Regions from separate parts of the Homo sapiens genome. Here all the other regions are linked to region 3. Evidence: promoter capture Hi-C in human tissues and cell types (Jung and others, 2019). All regions are on one chromosome and are shown on one strand. The core of a region is centred on a gene start or on the middle of the fragment in contact, and the rest is flanking DNA. Distances in the headings are between cores, read along the strand shown.

Evidence for each region. The method cuts DNA at HindIII sites, captures the fragments that hold promoters and counts their contacts. A contact is called where the count stands out against the background at its distance.
Region 1: a fragment that was not itself captured here is called in contact with the fragment with the promoter of LLPH in region 3 in 1 of the 25 tissues and cell types used here (bladder).
Region 2: a fragment that was not itself captured here is called in contact with the fragment with the promoter of LLPH in region 3 in 1 of the 25 tissues and cell types used here (psoas muscle).

What each region holds. Positions count from the first base shown.
Region 1 is chr12:64,827,253-64,830,693 of GRCh38, reverse strand. TBC1D30 (TBC1 domain family member 30) reads right to left here. Exons shown (of 12, transcript NM_015279.2): 2 at 2,798-2,859; 3 at 2,185-2,250; 4 at 192-317. Among named protein-coding and RNA genes, the nearest start is that of TBC1D30, 4.3 kb to the right of the region's middle. RefSeq lists an enhancer at 3,115-3,164. The HindIII fragment of the contact is 5,206 bases long and covers 1-3,441 here.
Region 2 is chr12:64,641,165-64,644,756 of GRCh38, reverse strand. All of the region lies in intron 1 of RASSF3 (Ras association domain family member 3), which reads right to left. Among named protein-coding and RNA genes, the nearest start is that of MIR548Z, 20 kb to the right of the region's middle. RefSeq lists an enhancer at 2,811-3,314. The HindIII fragment of the contact is 4,634 bases long and covers 1-3,592 here.
Region 3 is chr12:66,128,471-66,132,023 of GRCh38, reverse strand. LLPH (LLP homolog, long-term synaptic facilitation factor) reads left to right here and starts at 1,274. Exons shown (of 3, transcript NM_032338.4): 1 at 1,274-1,319; 2 at 2,911-3,128. The coding sequence starts at 2,918. LLPH-DT (LLPH divergent transcript) reads right to left here and starts at 1,273. Exons shown (of 2, transcript NR_125724.1): 1 at 1,049-1,273. RefSeq lists enhancers at 1,251-1,360, 1,401-1,550. The HindIII fragment of the contact is 6,410 bases long and covers 1-3,553 here.

The DNA.
Region 1 (3,441 bases), core at 365-2,864, 1.3 Mb after region 3:
TAACATTTAAATTTATGCAGACAACACATTGTCAAGGTTCCCCATGAAAAAGCTAATGAAATGAGAAGGCAGAAAATATACAGACATTCAAACCAGAAGGTAGAGATCATTTGATCCTCTGTCCAAAAAGCAACTGGCTTTTAGAGTCTTTCTTCTATATTAGGATGACAGGCCAAGTTCAGGGGCATTACCTTGACTATCTGAATTCCCATGGAGTCATCATCAGGATTACTCCTTTCATTGAAAGTGAAGCGCATGGTTTTGTCCCAGTCAATGGCTATACTGTGCAAATAATGATCTGCCAAGGTCAACCAAACCTAAAATATTACATAGACAAAGGAGAATGCCAAAGTAGAATATATAACTTCACCTTTATTAGAAAGTAGTTATTGCATTCGACAAGAAAATGGGAAGTGTCCCTAGACCAGCTATCTATCGCTCATAAGTAGAAATCTACAAGAGTCTCACTGAAATGTTTGTTGCACTGATTTGCACCATTTAGGGCCTTTCATTTACTCTTTCAATAAATATTTGTTGAGTTCCCACTATGTGTCAAGCAGCAATCCAGGCATTAGGGATACTGTTAGAAAGACAAACCAAGAAGATTTTCAAATTGTATTTCTGTTCATTGAATAACCTGTATAATCTCATAAGCTTGTTTTACTTGGCTCTGTATTGCTCTCCATACTTAGGCAAGAGCCATCTGGTCACTCATGGTGAATGGGGCTTTTTTTCACCATGGAGTGGCCTCTGCCTTTAAACCATCCCTCTCACACACATACACAAAACTGACAGATGGGCTCCCATAATGAGTAAGTTTTTTAAAAGAGCCACTGGATATTTTTACCCTTTGATTATCTTATCCAGAAAATCTGTTTCTGAAAGTTATATTTCATAATGTCATTTTCATGACTATTTTGAGGAACCCTCAATTTTCAAATTCTAGAAATATAAAGATTAGGCTTATAAATTAATATCCTAAGTGTGTATTTCAAGTTTTGGTATTTAAACATGATTTAGCAGAAATAAACATTGATTTATATATCCAGCCAGACTTCTCTCCTAACCTCAGAAGCATATATCCAAATGCTCACTTGATACCTTCAAATTAGATATCTAATAGGCATGTCAACCTTAACAGATCCAAAACCAATCACTTATTCCACCACCTACCCTACCTACACGTACAGACACACACACACCTCACCTACTCCTCCCATCTGAGTAAACAGTAATTCTACCTCCCAATCACTCAGGCCAAAATCCTGAAGTCATCTTTGACATCCCTTTTATACCTTATATTCAGTCCAAGAGGAATTCATGTAAGCTCAGCCTTCAAAATACGTCTAGGATTTCCATCTCCACTACCACAACCCTGATGCATCTGTTGCCTGAGCTACTGCAAGTCTCCTACTGGTCTCCCTACTTCAGCCCTTGTCTCTCATATTCTCAAGTCAGTACCCAGAGTAGCCCGTTCATAATAAAAGTCAGATCATGTCACTCCCCTGCTCAAAACTTCCCAGTGCTTCCTAGCTCACACTGAGCAAAAGCCCAAGACCTATGATAGCCCACCAGGTTCTCCACGATCTGCCACCCCTCAACCCACCACATTACCTCTATGACCCCCTCACCTATTGCTTCCCCCTTTGTTCACTGTGCCCCAGCCCCGCCCCACCCCATCTTTGCTTGAATACAACCCAGATGCAAGATGCTCCCGCCTGAGGGCTGAGGGTGCTTGCGCTGGCTGTTCCCTCTGCCTGGAGTATCTCCTCCCAGGTACTTGCATGGCTGGCTTCTCACCTCCTTCAGGGGCCTACTCGAATGTCACCTTGCTATTTAAAATTCCACCTCCTTACCCCTTTTCTCCTAAACGCTCTTTATTTCTCTCTACACTTTATTTTTATCCATGGCACTTATTACCATCTGACATACTTTATATTTTATTCATTGTAAGCTCCATGAGGACAAAAAACTTTGGTCTGTTTTGTTTTTTTCCATTGCTATATCCCTAGAACCTAGAACATTACTTGGCACAGAATAATCAATAAATATTTATTGCATGAATGAATAATCAAGACAGGTTTTCAAGTAACTAAACCTAGAATATATTTTTTGACATTCCAGAGGCTCTAAAGAAGGGCAGTGATGATCCTTCTGTATTCTAGCCCTATGAGTCCTCCTTACCTTTCTCCTCCATTCCTTTGGTATTCCTGTGGATAGCCTGGCAACTGCCTTGAGAGCATCGTACCACTAGGAACAAAGAAGAAATCCCAGGAGGTGATCACAGTGACCTAGATAAGCACTTTGCAATCTTTTTCCCATCTTGACATTCATAGAATGTGCTGAAATTTGCACAGCACAATGGGGTAAACAGTCAAAGCTTCTTTCAGACAGAAGTGATCAGTCCATGGCTATTACTGTGCCACGTCCCACCCCTTGGGCACCCTTAACACATCTGTGACCCCTTTGCAGTACAAACAAAATGGTTGGGAAGCTCTGGTTAATAAGCCAAAATATATATTATGGGGTTCAGAATAAAAGACATTATGGTACAGGTGTGAAATTTATTCATTTTAAAATTTTTCACACATGTACCATTAATAGAAAGTGCAAAATTTGTCACTGCAAATATAAACCCAGGCCACTTGTAGCTCAAAAGCTACTTTAACTGAAATATTGTTGAAGTGACTCATCTTCACATTCATATCAAAGAATACGTTATTTCCACTTTGAGAATATATCTCAATGTGCCCTGTTGGTAACCCCAAAAGAAGAGTGTTTTCAAAATCAAAGTTACCTGCTGAAAACCATTTTGACCTAAAGATGGCTCAAGAGTGAATTTCAACTTGGTATCAACTCCTGAAAGAAAAATACATAAATAGATGTTATTTTTGGAGACTATAACAAGTTATATCAAAAATACTAGTAAAAGCTTGATTCTACTGAATCATCACAATTTTTTTTAAAGTATGTATCTTTACTAAATTTTAGTCAATTTTGCCAAAAGGTAAGCATATTGATTCTTAAAATAGGAAAATACCCTACAGCAATAGAAAGTGCCTTACTACATATGACGGTGGTTTACATAGATGCCTGGAGTACCACAAAAGCAAAAACAAAAACAAAAAATGACACCACAGGCTTGGAGTCATACAGTCCTCCATTCGACTTGGTTCCTAGACTGAAACAATTTATCTAACCTATCTCAGTCTCAATTCCTTTTCTTCTTTTTAAGAGATACAGTCTCAATATATCACCCAGGCTGAAGTATAGTGGCTATTCACAGGCACAATCATAGCACAATGCAGCCTTGGATTCCTGGGCTTAAGCAATCCTCCCACCTCAGCCTCCCAAATAGCTGGGATTATAGGCACGTGCTACCACGCACAGCTAATTTTTGTATTTTTTGTAGAACAGGGTTTCGTCATGTTGGTCAGGCTG
Region 2 (3,592 bases), core at 624-3,123, 1.5 Mb after region 3:
CAGGAAAACCACACATATACATATACATTATATATATTTTTGTTTGTTTGTTTGTTTTTGGTTGGAGACAGGGTCTCTGCTGCCCAGGCTGGAGTGTAGTGATGCAAACACAGCTCACTGCAGCCTCAACCTCCTGGGCTCAGGTGATCTTCCCACCTTAGCCTCCCGGGTAGCTGGAACTACAGGCATGTGCAACCACGCCCAGCTAATTTTTGTATTTTTTTGCGGAGATGGGGTTTCTCCATGTTGCCCAGGCTGGTCTCCAACTCCTGGGCTTAAGTGATCTGCCCATCTCGGCCTCCTAAAGTTCTGGGATTATAGACATGAGCCACCTTGCCTGGACAGAAAACATATTGATATGTAAACAGATACTATTAAGAAGACTACAAATTTGCCTAAGATAATACAGGACACTCCAGAGAAACCTCTGCTGCTCAATTCAAGCTACGCTCTAGGCCATCACTCTTCCTGAGCTCCTCAGGTACTCTTTCCCTCTCTATATATTTCAGGAACAGTTTTGACAGGTTAGGCATAGGATATTTAGAATATTTCTGGTTCTCTACCTTAAACAACTCTAATCAATGTGCTTCAGGTTTTTTAATGCAATTTAAACTGATGACAAAGTTTAAGCTATTTCCTCAAATTATAAATACCACTCCATCTGGCTTACTATCCCTGCAGAGCAAAATATTTATTTTCAGCAATGTTGACATGCAAAAGCAAAAGAACAGGAAACTGTGTTTAAGAAAAACAAAATACCACAATAAGATTAACAAACTACATACAAGTTTACACTTACCTTTAGGAAGTTGTCTTTGTATGAAAAGTATATTTTCGATTCAATTGCATACACACAACAATGAAGCTTTACTTTGTTAAAATAATTAGTCAATCACTGGGAAACAAATGAAACTCTGAGATAAAGTGAAAAAACAAATTGCCCTTTTTAGAATTAACCTGCCAGTAATCTCTAGGTGCTTTTACCCAAAGACCCCAGTCTAAAATTCACATGCAAAACATTTTTTTCAGTTATAAAACAGAAGAGTTGTAGGACAGAAAAAACACAGAAGCCAAAAGAGATTGTCCTATCACCCAGAGTAGATCATTCCGGTTTTTTTTTCCTATTCTTATATTTAATGATACATTATACATGCTGTTTTGTTGGGGTTTTTGGTTTATTTTTGTTTTGGGGTTTTATTTTTTTTTTAAGAGACGGGGTCTCACTAGGTTGCCCAGGCTGGAATGCAGTGGCTATTCACAAGAACAATCATCCCATACTACAGCCCCAAACTCCTTCCTCGGCTCAAGCGGTCGTTCTGCCTTAGTCTCCCATGCAGCTGGACTACAGGTGCTTGCCACCTCACCGGCTTCTATACATGCTGTTTTAAAATTCTTTTCCATTTGAAAAATGTTGTGAGTATCTGTGCATCTAACACTTTAACAGTAACAATAGCTAAATCTTTATGGAGCTTTACTATGGACCAGACATGTTCTAAGCATTTTACAAGGTATTAATAACTTCTTTCATACTCAAATAATCCAAGGACAGCTGTTAAGCTACAATTAACAATTGCATTAAGAAACTTGCCCGGGCCAGGCGTGATGGCTCACACCGGTGATCCCAGCACTTTGGGAGGGTGAGGCGGGTGGGGAGGGGCGGAATCACCTGAGCTCAGGAGTTCAAGACCACCCTGGGCAACATGGTGAAGCCCTGTCTCTACTAAAATACATTAGCCAGGTGTGGTGCCATGTGCCTGTAGTCCCAGCTGAGGCTGAGGCACGAGAATCACTTGAACCCCAGAGGCGGAGGTTGCAGTGAGCTGAGATCGTACCACTGCATTCCAGCTTGGGCAACAGAGTGAGACTCCATCTCAAGAAAAAAAAAAAAAAAGAAAGAAAGAAACTTGCCCAAAGTCATAAAGTTCTAAGTGGCAGCACAACTATCAGAATTCACTTAGTCTGAATCCAGAAGCTATACTTTTAAACCACTGCACTCTACAAATAATTTTAAATAATTGAATATCTACTGTTTCCAAACTTCTCACTATTACAAAGTTTTGTATTACAAAACTTTGTATTAATTACAAAACTTTGTATTAATTTGTATTAATTAACTTTGTATTAATTAATTACAAAACTTTGTATTAATTACAAAGTTTTGATGAATCTTTTTTTTTTTTTTTTTTTTTTTTTTTTTGAGATGGAGTCTCGTTCTGTCGCCCAGGCTGGAGTGCAGTGGCATGATCTTGGCTTACTGCAACCTCTGCTTCCAGGATTCAAGCGATTCTCCTGCCTCAGCCTCCTGAGTAGCTGAGACTACAGGCACCCGCCACCATGCCCAGCTAATTTTTGTATTTTTAGTAGAGACAGGGTTTCACCATTTTGGCCAGGCTTGTCTTGAACTCCTGACCTTAGGTGATCTGCCTGCCTCGGCCTCCCAAAGTGCTGGGATTACAGGCATGAGAAACCGGGCCCGGCCCTTGATGAACCTTCTCATAAGAAATATTTTCATATATCCTTGACTTTTTTCCTTAAGATAGTTTTTTAGAAGTACAATTGCTAAGCCAGAAGATAAAGCAAACAATTTAAATAACCAGGTGAGCTGTCAACCAGAACATTTTAATCAGCCCATAAGGAAACTTAATGCAGTAGAAAAGATAATTTGCAACAAATAATTATAATTAGATGGCTCCATATATAGAAATCAGAATCACAGGCCGAGCACGGTGGCTCACGCCTGTAATCTCAGCACTTTGGGAGGCCAAGATAGGCGGATCACCTGAGGTCGGGAGTTCGAGACCAGCCTGACCAACATGGAGAAACCCCGTCTCTACTAAAGATACAAAATTAGCCGGGCGTGGTGGCACATGCCTGTTATCCCAGCTACTCGGGAGGCTGAGGCAGAAGAATCGCTTGAACCCGGGAGGCAGAGGTTGCAGTGAGCCGAGATCACACTACTGCACTCTAGCCTGGGCAACAAGGGCGAAACTCCATCCAAAAAAAAAAAATCACTAGGTACTTTAAAGTCACAAGGGAGGTGCTAAATAGCTAAAGAAATGCTGATATTCAACCGCTTAAATGCCCCCTAGGAGTCAGTAACTTAAAAAAAAAAAAAAAAAGAGAGAGAGAGATGGGGTCTCACCATATTGCCTGGCTGGTCTCAAACTCCTGAGCTCAAGTAATCCTCCTGGCCTTGGCCTCCCAAAGTGCTGGGATTACAGGCATGAGCCACCACCCCCAGCTGGAGTCAGTTACTTTCTCAAAACCAGGCTTGACAACTGTACAGGTCTAGTCCCCCACGTCCATAGGGTTTCTCATTTGTTTTCAACGCGCGCGCGCGCGTGTGTGTGTGTGCGCCTGTGAGACAGGGTCTCACTCTGTCACCCAGGCTGGAAGGCAGTGGTACGGTCTCGGCTCACTGCAACCTCCACCTCTTGGGCTCAAGAGATCCTCCCACCTCAGCCTCCTGAGTTGCTGGGATTACAGGCACACACCACCACGCCCAGCTAGTTTTTGTATATTTAGTGGAGACAGGGTTTCATCATGTTGCCCAGGCTGGTCTCCAACTCCTGAGCTCAAGGGATCTGCCTCC
Region 3 (3,553 bases), core at 25-2,524:
GTACAGTATATGGTTAACTTGTAAAACAGAAATTCACTTGCTTTATAAGAACGAAATCTCATTTAAATAAACCAGGTTTCTTAGGCATGCTTCCTTTTTTTATATCAAATGTTCTAGGTTTTTTTCAGCCTCTTTAACCTTGCTATATTCTGAATTCAGTAATTTCCATACTATGCATGGTTTCATAAAGGACACAAATTTAAAGAAAAAAGGTACCCATAGATTGCCTCAGAACCCCTTTTTCTGGCAACCAGCAGGAGTTTACCAGGCCATCATTAAAGACATGTTTTTTGGGTATATGTCGTAAATCTCTAGAAACATTGCTTACAAATAGTACTGTGTAGCTATACTTTTGAAACTATAATGTAAAAAGGGTACCATTTGTTGAACTCTTACAGCATCAATTAGGTTGTATTATGTTCACTTTAGGGACAAGGAAATTCAGGCCCTTATGACATTAATTACTCACCCATATCGTTCACAAGTGTTGGAAGCAAGAGTACAACACAGACCTATATGGTTCCAAAGCCTATGCCAGTAGAAATAGTTGTACAGTAAGTGTTATTCGTGAGCTAAGACAATCGTCCTAGGCTTAGCATTGTGTCTGATACGTAAGTGATCAGACAGGTAAACATTGATAGAACTGAAATCCTTTGATCATTTTACCCTTTAAATTCTTCTCTGGGGTAGGAAAAGCTTGTTTTCTGTTTTTGGTAACCGCTTTGAGTATAACTGACATGCAATAAGTTGCACATATTTAAAGTGTGCAGTTTGATACGGTTTTACATATGTGTACATCTGTGAGGCCATCACCCGAGATGAGAAAATGCACAGGCTGCAAATAAAAATGATCTCAATACGGCCTCTGGAAGAACACCTGATCTAGGCTGACTTGATCTAAGGAAATACATGAGTATCATGTAAACGCTGAGGTCAGATCTAAAGGTCGGCTCGGAGCTCCCTATCTGACAAGTAGGGTCCCCTGGCCAGGTTCACTCCATAGGTTAGTCTCGGGGCTACCCTGCCCACGTCCGGAAAGCGGACCTACCTGGGGCCTAACCTTGACCGGACACCCGTCAGCATTCTCCAAATCCGACTTCTACACCTGTATGGGACGGACCAAGTTTCTAGGTCCGCGATCACACCAATGGCGGAAGCTCGTCAGCGCCCGGGTTCCAAAATCCCGCCTCTCAAGGCTTCTTGAGACATTTTGTCTCCCGGCGTGCAATGCGTCCGCCCCGGGTGGCCTCCGCCCGGAAGACGGAAGTGCAAAGACTTCCGGTCGGCGTGAGCGTGAGGTGTGGGTGTTCGTTTCTCAGGTGAGTTCGGTTCCTCACCGGTCCAGTGACACATGGGACTTGGGGCTTGATTCCGCCACCCTTGGAGAATTTCGTTTCTTGACACTCGCTGGGCTATACTTGAGCTCCAGTCCGGAGATGCAGGCCTTGTTGAGGGCGAGGGTTCCCCTTGCTCTTTTTGGTGGGGGCCCTCCGGCTTCCGAGTGCACTGGATAAAGTGGAGCCCACCCCTGTCGTTCACTCCCGCTGAAGTTAACTTCGGCCCTCAAGGTTGTTTGCCGCCCGCTTTCCTAGCCCCTCGCAAGGGTTGAGTTATGTAGACAAGGGAGCGGAATGACTGTGATTGCCGGCGTTCAAAAAATGTTAGTGGTTCGTTCAACAAGTATGCAAAAAGTGTGCGATTCAGCAGTGAACAAGACCTTTCCCTCTACCTTCGTGGAGTCTACAGTCTGGGGAGAGGGTCGGGGGGCGTGACAGAAAACAATGGTTTCAGGTTGTAACACTTAATAAGCAGGGAAGGGAGCTTACGGAGGTCAGAGGAGTCCTTTCTGAGGTAGCGAATGAAGGAGCAAGCCTTGAGAAGAGCAGTTGCCAGGCATAGGGACAGCAAATATGAAGGCACTGACGTAGAGATAGTTTGGACTCTTTACAGACGTAGTTGGTGCCTGCGGGGATGGGGATGGAGAATGAAATGAAATAGAGTTGAAGGAGGCAGGGGACAGATCACAAATGACCTTGTAGATCTTGAATATATATGAGGGAGGAGGTCTTTAAAGAACTCGAAGAAAGGCAGTGAATGCTTTTTTAAAAGATCACACTGAGCACCTTGTGGAGGATTTAGGGCGGAACTGAGTGGAAAGAAAACAAGAGTAGGAATAGATAAGTTTACAGTCGTTAAGTTGGCTTGAGAGGATGGATAATGAAGATGAGGTGAAGTGTTTATAAAAATCATTTGTAATTTGTAAGCTGTTGCATAAATGTAAGGTGATGACGCTGTTGCATTCTGGGGAAATTAAATTTCTGTATTTTGTAAAGAAATTCAGCCGGGCGCGGTGGCTCAAGCCTGTAATCCCAGCACTTTGGGAGGCCGAGGCGGGCGGATCACAATGTCAGGAGATCGAGACTATCCTGGCTAACACGGTGAAAACCCGTCTCTACTAAAAATACAAAAAATTAGCCAGGCGTGGTGGCGGGCGCCTGTAGTCCCAGCTGCTCGGGAGGCTGAGGCAGGAGAATGGCGTGAACCTGAGAGGTGGAGGTTGCAGTGAGCTGAGATCGCGCCACTGCACTCCAGCCTGGGACACAGAACAAGACTCTGTCTCAAAAAAAAAAAAAGAAAAAAGACATGCAAGGTGCTTTCAGAATTGGTTTGATTTGTAGTTTGCTTATGACCACAAGTTTGATTTGATATCTTGTTATTTAGTGACTGTGTATGTACCATGTTGATCTTCATATAAGTTGCATGTTAAGTCCTAAAAAGTGAACAGATTGAAGAGTTTTACTTTTCACTTGTTTTGTAGAGATACCTGTTGGCCTGGTTTTCTAAGGATTTGCCTGTTTTCTTTTTTATATTAAAGATTTGCTTTTGAATGTGTGTTTTTGTTAACTTCAGGTAAAACATGGCTAAAAGCTTACGGAGTAAGTGGAAAAGAAAGATGCGTGCTGAAAAGAGAAAAAAGAATGCCCCAAAGGAGGCCAGCAGGCTTAAAAGTATTCTCAAACTAGACGGTGATGTTTTAATGAAAGATGTTCAAGAGATAGCAACTGTGGTGGTACCCAAACCCAAACATTGCCAAGAGAAAATGCAATGTGAGGTAAAAGATGAAAAAGGTGAGTGTGCTTCTCCTTTTTCTTTCTCTTTTTTTTTTTTTTTTTTTGAGGCAGGGTCTCCTTCCTCTGTCACCTAGGCTAGAGTGCAGTGGTGTGATTATAGCTTCCTGCAGCCTTGAATTCCTGAGCTGAAGCGGATTCTTCCCACCTCAGCCTTCCAAAGCACTGGGTTACAGGCATGAACCACAGTGCCCAGCCCCTCTGCGCTTCATTTAAAAACAAAAAAAATTCTGTCAAGCCTGTTCATGTATATACATATGTTTTGGATTATTTAGAGTGGGTCTTTGGTGCTTATACAATAGCCTCCATGTCTCAGGAATAAACAGTTCTACAGGAGTAGACAAATCTAGGCATACTCTGGTTGGAAGGGTACACAGTTCACTCAGGGCCTAGGCAGCATAGGTCTTCATTTTACTCTTTGTAAG